2 separate regions of the Homo sapiens genome follow, and region 1 is linked to region 2. Evidence: promoter capture Hi-C in 16 types of primary human blood cells and fetal thymus (Javierre and others, 2016). All regions are on one chromosome and are shown on one strand. The core of a region is centred on a gene start or on the middle of the fragment in contact, and the rest is flanking DNA. Distances in the headings are between cores, read along the strand shown.

Region 1 (3,450 bases), core at 483-2,982, 1.0 Mb after region 2:
TTGTATTCTCTTTCCTTCAGCGTCACATCACAGAGAAGCATGGAAAGCCCCCATCAATCACAGACAAGAGGCTAGCCCTAGTTAGAAGAGCTTATCTACAGCTACTTTCCTTTCAGGTGGGAACAGTTTAAATTGCCACTAAATCACAAAATGAAAATCACTCCTTGGTGTTTTTCCATCTCCAGGATATGTGCCAGTTTTAATGGTCCATTGGCCATTGGCCTGTGCATCCACTGATGTTGGCATCAGTAGATGCTGAAGATTAATGCCAACCATTGTATGATAACCCAGTAAAACAAAATCAGTTAAGCATCTCAATACATTCTCTCTCTTCTTTAGTATCTATATATTTGACTCATTATTTGATTTTCCCTTTTCATTGTACACACAGTCAAATTAGGAGCCTGGCAGAGGTCTGGGGAAGTAGGGTGGAGAAGGAAAAGAATGCTTCCCCCTCTCCCTCCCTGCTGTCCTCTGGACATGACAGCACACCCAGAGTCCCTCGGTCATCTCCAGCCATGACTGGGGTGAGGAGAAGGCAATGGGAACACAGAGGCTCTTTACAGATCATAACAACCCCTCATCAAGTTTGCCATGATGTTGGTCCTCTATGCAAAATATGATAAAGTGAAATCACAAACAGATCTTCCAAGAAAAGCAGAAAATCAACAACGCATGATCAACTAGAACCTCTTTTATTCCCTAAGTAGTGTTCCATTTATTTTGTATTTTGAATTTTTATTTTGGTATGACTTGCCACCTACATACCTCAAAGAGGTATTGTAAGGATTAAAATAATGTCTTAAAGCACTTTGAAACAGGGATAAAATGTTTGTTCTCTGACATTGGTACAACCTCGTGGGTAGGTTTTTGTTAGTATACAAATTACTTTAACTCTGGTAAATACGTGATTTCTAAATCATTGATATTTGTTCTAAATTGTACCATAGCTCCTCCACATTCACGTGTTAGGCACATTGGTTGCCAAATCCAACTGGTCCTTTGTGAATTTAGAGATAATATGTATAATCATGGCACATCATAGCAAGAGTTTAGGAAGGCCTCTAATTTCAGGGATTGTTACTACCTATTCATGCTCTACAGCTTTGAGGGTTTTTGTTATTGTTGTTATGGTTGGTTTTTTGGTTTTTTTTTTTTTAGAGACAAGGTCTTGCTCTGTAATACAGGCTGGAGTTGCAGTGGTGCGATCATAGCTCACTACAGCCTCGAACTCCTGGGCTCAAGTGATCCTCCCACCTCAGCCTCCCTAGGTGTTAAGACTACAGATGCTTGCCACCACGCCCAACTAATTTTTAAATTTTCTGTAGAGATGGGATCTCCCTATGTTGCCCAGGCTGGTCTGGAACTCCTGGCCTTAAGCAATCCTCCCATCTCAGCCTCCCAAAATACTGGGATTACAGGTGTGAGCCATTGCACCTAGCTGCTATGAGTTTTACATGGAAGTAAGTTGAGAATTTTGAATCTTTGATCTATCTTTTTATACGATCTGATATACCAAAATGTTGCTAGAAAAGCTTTAAAAATCCTCATATTATTCTTGATAGTCTCAGCAGGCAATTAAAAAGCAGTTAAAAATAAAATTAGCTGACTCATTTCAGGAGTTTAGCTGACAATGGTACTGGTAGCTTCGGCTTGACAGATAATATTATCATAGAAAGCAGCACAACAACTTTAACAATCATGCAAATTTCTCTAAAATAATTGCAAAAGAGAATTTATACAATGTATCCTTTGGTTTTCTGTGTCTCTTCTTTTGGACAAAATTCTCAAAAACTGAACCCACTCAGACACCCCAACGTATTTTGTAAGAGTTAGATGTTGCTTTAAGAAATACAAAACCTGGGGCCGGGCGTGGTGGCTCATGCCTGTAATCCCAGCACTTTGGGAGGCTGGGGTGGGAGGATTGTTGAAGCTTGGGAGTTCGAGTCCAGCCTGGGCAACATAGTGAGACCCTGTCTCTTTAAAAAAAAAAAAAGAAGAAGAAGAAGAAGAAGAAACAAAATTTGGAGACAAGTGACTGTCTCATAAAAATTTTAAAATCTTACAAAATTAACTCAGAAAAGCAAAACATATAGAACGGCAATAACAACAAAAAGTAGATGACTTGAAGGGAATTGGAATATAATGGCTTCTAAGTCTGGGATCTGTTTTTCTGGGTTTGATATCTTTTTTTTTTTGGGACGGAGTTTTGCTCTTGTTGCCCAGGCTGGAGTGCAATGGCGCTATCTCGGGTCACTGCAACCTCCACCTCCCGGGTTCAAGCAGTTCTCCTGCCTTAGCCTCCTGAGTAGCTGGGATTACAGGCACCTGCCACCACGCGCTGTGAATTTTTTGTATGTTTAGTAGAGACAGGGTTTTGCCATGATGGCCAGGCTGGTCTTGAACTCCTAGCCTCAGGTGATCCACCCGCCTCAGCCTCCCAAAGTGCTGGGGATACAGGCATGAGCCACTACGCCTAGCTGTGATTTCTTTTTTTAAGACTAGTTAAATTCTTACTTAGGAAGAAGGCAATAGCCTAATTTTAATGTTCACTTTTAAAATTAAAAAGTACTCATGTCTTTTCATGTAGACGAATTATTTCTAACAAGGCAGATTCTGCAGTTATTCCTAGATTAGTTATTCTTGGCAGTTGTACTGTAAAACCACGTGTCAACTGTGTGTACACACGATGATTCTATTAAAAGATATCATAAATGCCACCTTATTTTCACAGCCCAATTAAAATATACAACAAATTTAGTCACTAATAAACAAAAATTGATGAGAACCATGGAAACATCTTAAATTAGAAACCAGGAAAACCTGAAATTTAAAAAAAAAGAAGCTGCTAAAATTACACAGTCAGGATAAAAATTTATATTGTAAATGTTACCAAAAAACATTTAAAGGTGTGAAAGGGTTTTGTTTTTTTCTTAATTAGCAAGGACATTCTTAGTTCTACCTTTGATGATCAATTCTTAAACAGGTCATAATGAAAGCATTATTTTTTATTTTTATTTATTTATTTTTTTGAGACTGAGTTTCACTCTCGTTGCCAAGGCCAGAGTGCAATGGCGTGATCTCCACTCACTGCAACCTCTGCCTCCTGAGTTCAAGCGATTCTCCTGCCTCAGCCTCCGGAGTAGCTGGGATTACAGGCGCCTGCCTCCACGCCCAGCTAATTATTATTATTTTTTTTTTTGAGACAGAGTCTTGCTCTGTCGCCCAGGCTGGAGTGCAGTGGCACGATCTCGGCTCAATGCAAGCTCCGCCTCCCGGGTTCACGCCATTCTCCTGCCTCAGCCTCCTGAGTAGCTGGGACTACAGGCGCCCGCCACCATGCCTGGCTAATTTTTTGTATTTTTTTAGTAGAGACGGGGTTTCACCGTGTCAGCCAGGATGGTCTTGATCTCCTGACCTCATGATCCACCCGCCTCGGCCTCCCAAAGT
Region 2 (3,544 bases), core at 796-3,295:
CTTTTAATAGGTGAAGTTTATGGCCTGTAAATTATATCTAAATAAAGATTTTAAAAATTAATATAAATTTGTATTTTTTATTACTTAAACATTTTGTCTATTTATCTCCAATTTACTTTTTAAAATAAACAGCTTTATTTTTTTTTTTTCAATTTTAAGATAGGGCCTTGCTCCATCACCCAGGCTAGAGTAGAGGGCAGTGGCATGATTATGACTTACCGCAGGCTTGAGCTCAAGTGATACTCCCACCTCAACCTTCCAAGTAGCTGGGACCACAGGCATGCCACCACACTCGACTAGTTTTCGTATTTTTTTTTTTTTTTTTGTAGAGACAGGGTCTCGCTATGTTGCCCAGGCTGGTCTTTAACTCCTGAACTCGAGATCCCCCTGCCTAAGCCTCCCAAAGTGCTGGGAATACAGGTGTGAGCCACCATACCTGGCCTAAAAAACAGATTTGAGATGAAACTTGCATGCCATTCAATTCATTCATTTAAAGTGTACAGTTCAGTGTTTTTTAGTATATTTACAGAGTTGTGCAACCATCACCACAATTTAGCTTTAGAGTATTTTCATCTCCCCAAAAATTAACCTGTACCATGAACTGACACTCCCCATTCCCTCTTCCCAACACTCCTCTTCCCAGAACCACTCATCTACTTTCTATCTCTATTGATTTACCTATTTGGGAGATTTCACATAAAGAGGTCATACAATATGTGGTATTTCATGACCGCTCCTGACTTGGCATGTTATCATCGTCATTCCTTTTAATTGTACATATTTGCAAGCTCTACATTATATTATTGCTTTGTATATATGCAAATTCATTTGGATATATACACCTTAGGTAAACCTTTGATATTTTAATTTTGGTTACACTGAACTTAAATTTATCTGTGAAAGAGAAAAGACATCTTACAATATTGAGTCTTCCTGTTGAAGAGAACAATATATTTTTTCATTGATTTAAGTTTTATGTTCTCCCAGTAGCATTTTAAAGTTTTCTTCATCTAGGTTCTCTGTATTTTTTGTTGAATTCATACCTAGATATTGCTGCTTTTTGTATATTTTTTTCTTTTGGATAGTTGGGCCTTCTCTTCTTCATTAGAGTAGAGATGAGTGGTTTTGTCAGTGCTTTCTTTATGTGACCTCTGTAATAGGTAATTTTCCCTTAAGTCTGATATACAATATAACTATGTACATAGACATATATGAAACAAGGAAAATTTATGACAAGAGCCAAATAGTGTTTCTGACAAATAATTCACAGAAGCCCAGCGATTTTATTTTGATCCAAATTTTAAAAACTGAGAAAAGAAAGAAAAAAAGCAATGATGTTTGTTTTCCAGAGTTTCCCGGGAAGTTTTTTCAACTTGTTACATTTTTATCCATTACTTTACAGCTACATGGGCTCTGGTCCATTTGTGTCAGGGCCAAGTTCATCTTGTTTTGAGGCCTGTACACTTACACACTTTCTTCTGCCTGGGAATGATTTCTCCTCACATTCTGATTCTCCTTCAAATCTCAGTTTAAGTGTCAACTCCTCTCCAAACCTCCCTGAGTGAAGTGGGCCTTTCCCTCCATTTTCTTTCACTGTACTACTTCATCCCCTGAGCACTCATCACAACCTAATAACATCTATTAACAGCTTTGTCTGTTTCAGACACACAATGTAGATTCTCCAATGCCTACCAGAGTACCTGGCACATACTATGCCTTCAATAAATAATTTTCAAAAAAATGAATTCAGATAAGGCAAATGTAATTTAAACTTTCAGTTAACTTATATTGAATGTATATGCCAGGCACAAGTCATGGTGTATTTTACATACTACATTTGGTTGTCATCTAATTAGCTCTGAAGGTCGCAGATCCATAATTCCAAAGTCCTCTCTAATCCTATAAATTTTCTCCTTCTACCTGAGGGTCTTGTCCCGCCCCCCACATCTTCTCCGCCCCTCACGCTTCTGAGAGCCCAAGCAGGGTTACCCGGCGAAGACTTCCGGGGCCGATGCGCATGCGCGGCCGATTTGCACATGCGCAATACTCGCGCTGCCTCCGTGGTCCCTGCCTGGCTGAGGTGGCAGCAGGGGGCGGGACGCGCAGCGCTATGGCAGAGGGCAGCGGGGAAGTGGTCGCAGTGTCTGCGACCGGGGCTGCCAACGGCCTCAACAATGGGGCAGGCGGGACCTCGGCGACGACCTGCAACCCGCTGTCGCGCAAGCTGCATAAGATCCTGGAGACGCGGCTGGACAACGACAAGGTAACCGGGGCTGGCGGGGCCGGAGTCACAGGTTCCTGCGGGGCTGAGCCGGGCCAGGGGCGGCGTCTGTCAGGGACCCACCGCGGTCTCCCTCGTCCCGGCAGCAGAGGGACCGCGAGTGACCCCAGACCTGCGGGCTCCGCTGCTCTGCGGGCGCCGGGGGCGGTGAGAAGGGGGAGCCCCAGCAACCTCCGGAAAAGCGAAGGGGTTTCCTGGGTGTTCTCTCCACCTGAAAAGGTGCCTTCAAGGCTCTCTGGATGGGATTGGTGAACGGTGGTGCCTCGAGAAGTGTCCTCCAAACACCCCTGGAGGCGTTTGGCTGTGTGAGCTGGGAGAGTGGAGGAGAGCACAAGACTGGATATGAAACAGATGCAAAAGAGCAGATTCCAAGATAAGGTAGCGCAAATGGGGGTCGGGAGACCAAGAGAGCAGTGGTAGGGATAAGGGTGCATTTCCACGGACAAGTGACAACAATTGCAATAATTTGCAGCGCGAAAGAACTACCTTTGCCCGTGGCTGAAATGAACTCATATCTACTAGTTTTTGTTGAGCCAAGCGCTATGATTTGTGGGCTCAGGCTGTATTTCTTTAGAAGATAAACTGACAGCATGCTCTCACAAGTACCTCCTGAAACTTAAGTTGGACTTTACAGCTCCTCACATACCCAGCCATCTCTTCTGTCTCTGTGGGTCGCTAGGTAAATTGGTCATGACAGTGTAACATAAAGAAGAACATATGTCAAAGTTAGAGAGTTTTATAGGTGAATATGTAGGTAACTGAAAATAAGCTGTCGATAACAATTTGATTCCGATATGTAAAAAAATAACATTGCAATGTAATGAATAAGAAATTAGGGCTCTGGAGACTACCACTTATTAGATAGAACCACTAAATGTGTGCATCATGATTTGAGTAAGTCCCTTCACTAATCTCAGCTTCTGTTTAGGAATTAGGAATCCTGCTGTTAAGTTTCTCATGGTTGTTATTTGAGGACTCAGTGAGAGACTCCAGGTAAAGTCCTTTGCAAAGAGCCTGGCACTTACTCTTTCTTAACAAATATTAATTTTATCATAAAATTTATGAAGTGTTTAATGTGTCTCATATTGATATTTATTATATCATTTAAGACTGCTACTTGCTCTGATATAGATAACATGGCCTTCTTTTTTGGACAGAGTTTTGCTCTTTTTGCCCAAGCTGGAGTGCAATGGGCGCAGTCTCGGCTCACTGCAACCTCTGCCTCCCGGGTTCAAGCGATTCTCCTGCCTCAGCCTCCCAAGT

What was found. The method cuts DNA at HindIII sites, captures the fragments that hold promoters and counts their contacts. A CHiCAGO score of 5 or more calls a contact.
Region 1: a fragment that was not itself captured here is called in contact with the fragment with the promoter of COG6 in region 2 in 2 of 17 cell types (fetal thymus and M0 macrophages); the score reaches 7.7 in fetal thymus.

What each region holds. Positions count from the first base shown.
Region 1 is chr13:40,674,608-40,678,057 of GRCh38, forward strand. No RefSeq gene overlaps it. Among named protein-coding and RNA genes, the nearest start is that of FOXO1, 9.7 kb to the left of the region's middle. The HindIII fragment of the contact is 398 bases long and covers 1,534-1,931 here.
Region 2 is chr13:39,653,617-39,657,160 of GRCh38, forward strand. COG6 (component of oligomeric golgi complex 6) reads left to right here and starts at 2,046. Exons shown (of 19, transcript NM_020751.3): 1 at 2,046-2,263. The coding sequence starts at 2,111. RefSeq lists a silencer at 2,310-2,359. The HindIII fragment of the contact is 8,496 bases long and covers 1-3,544 here.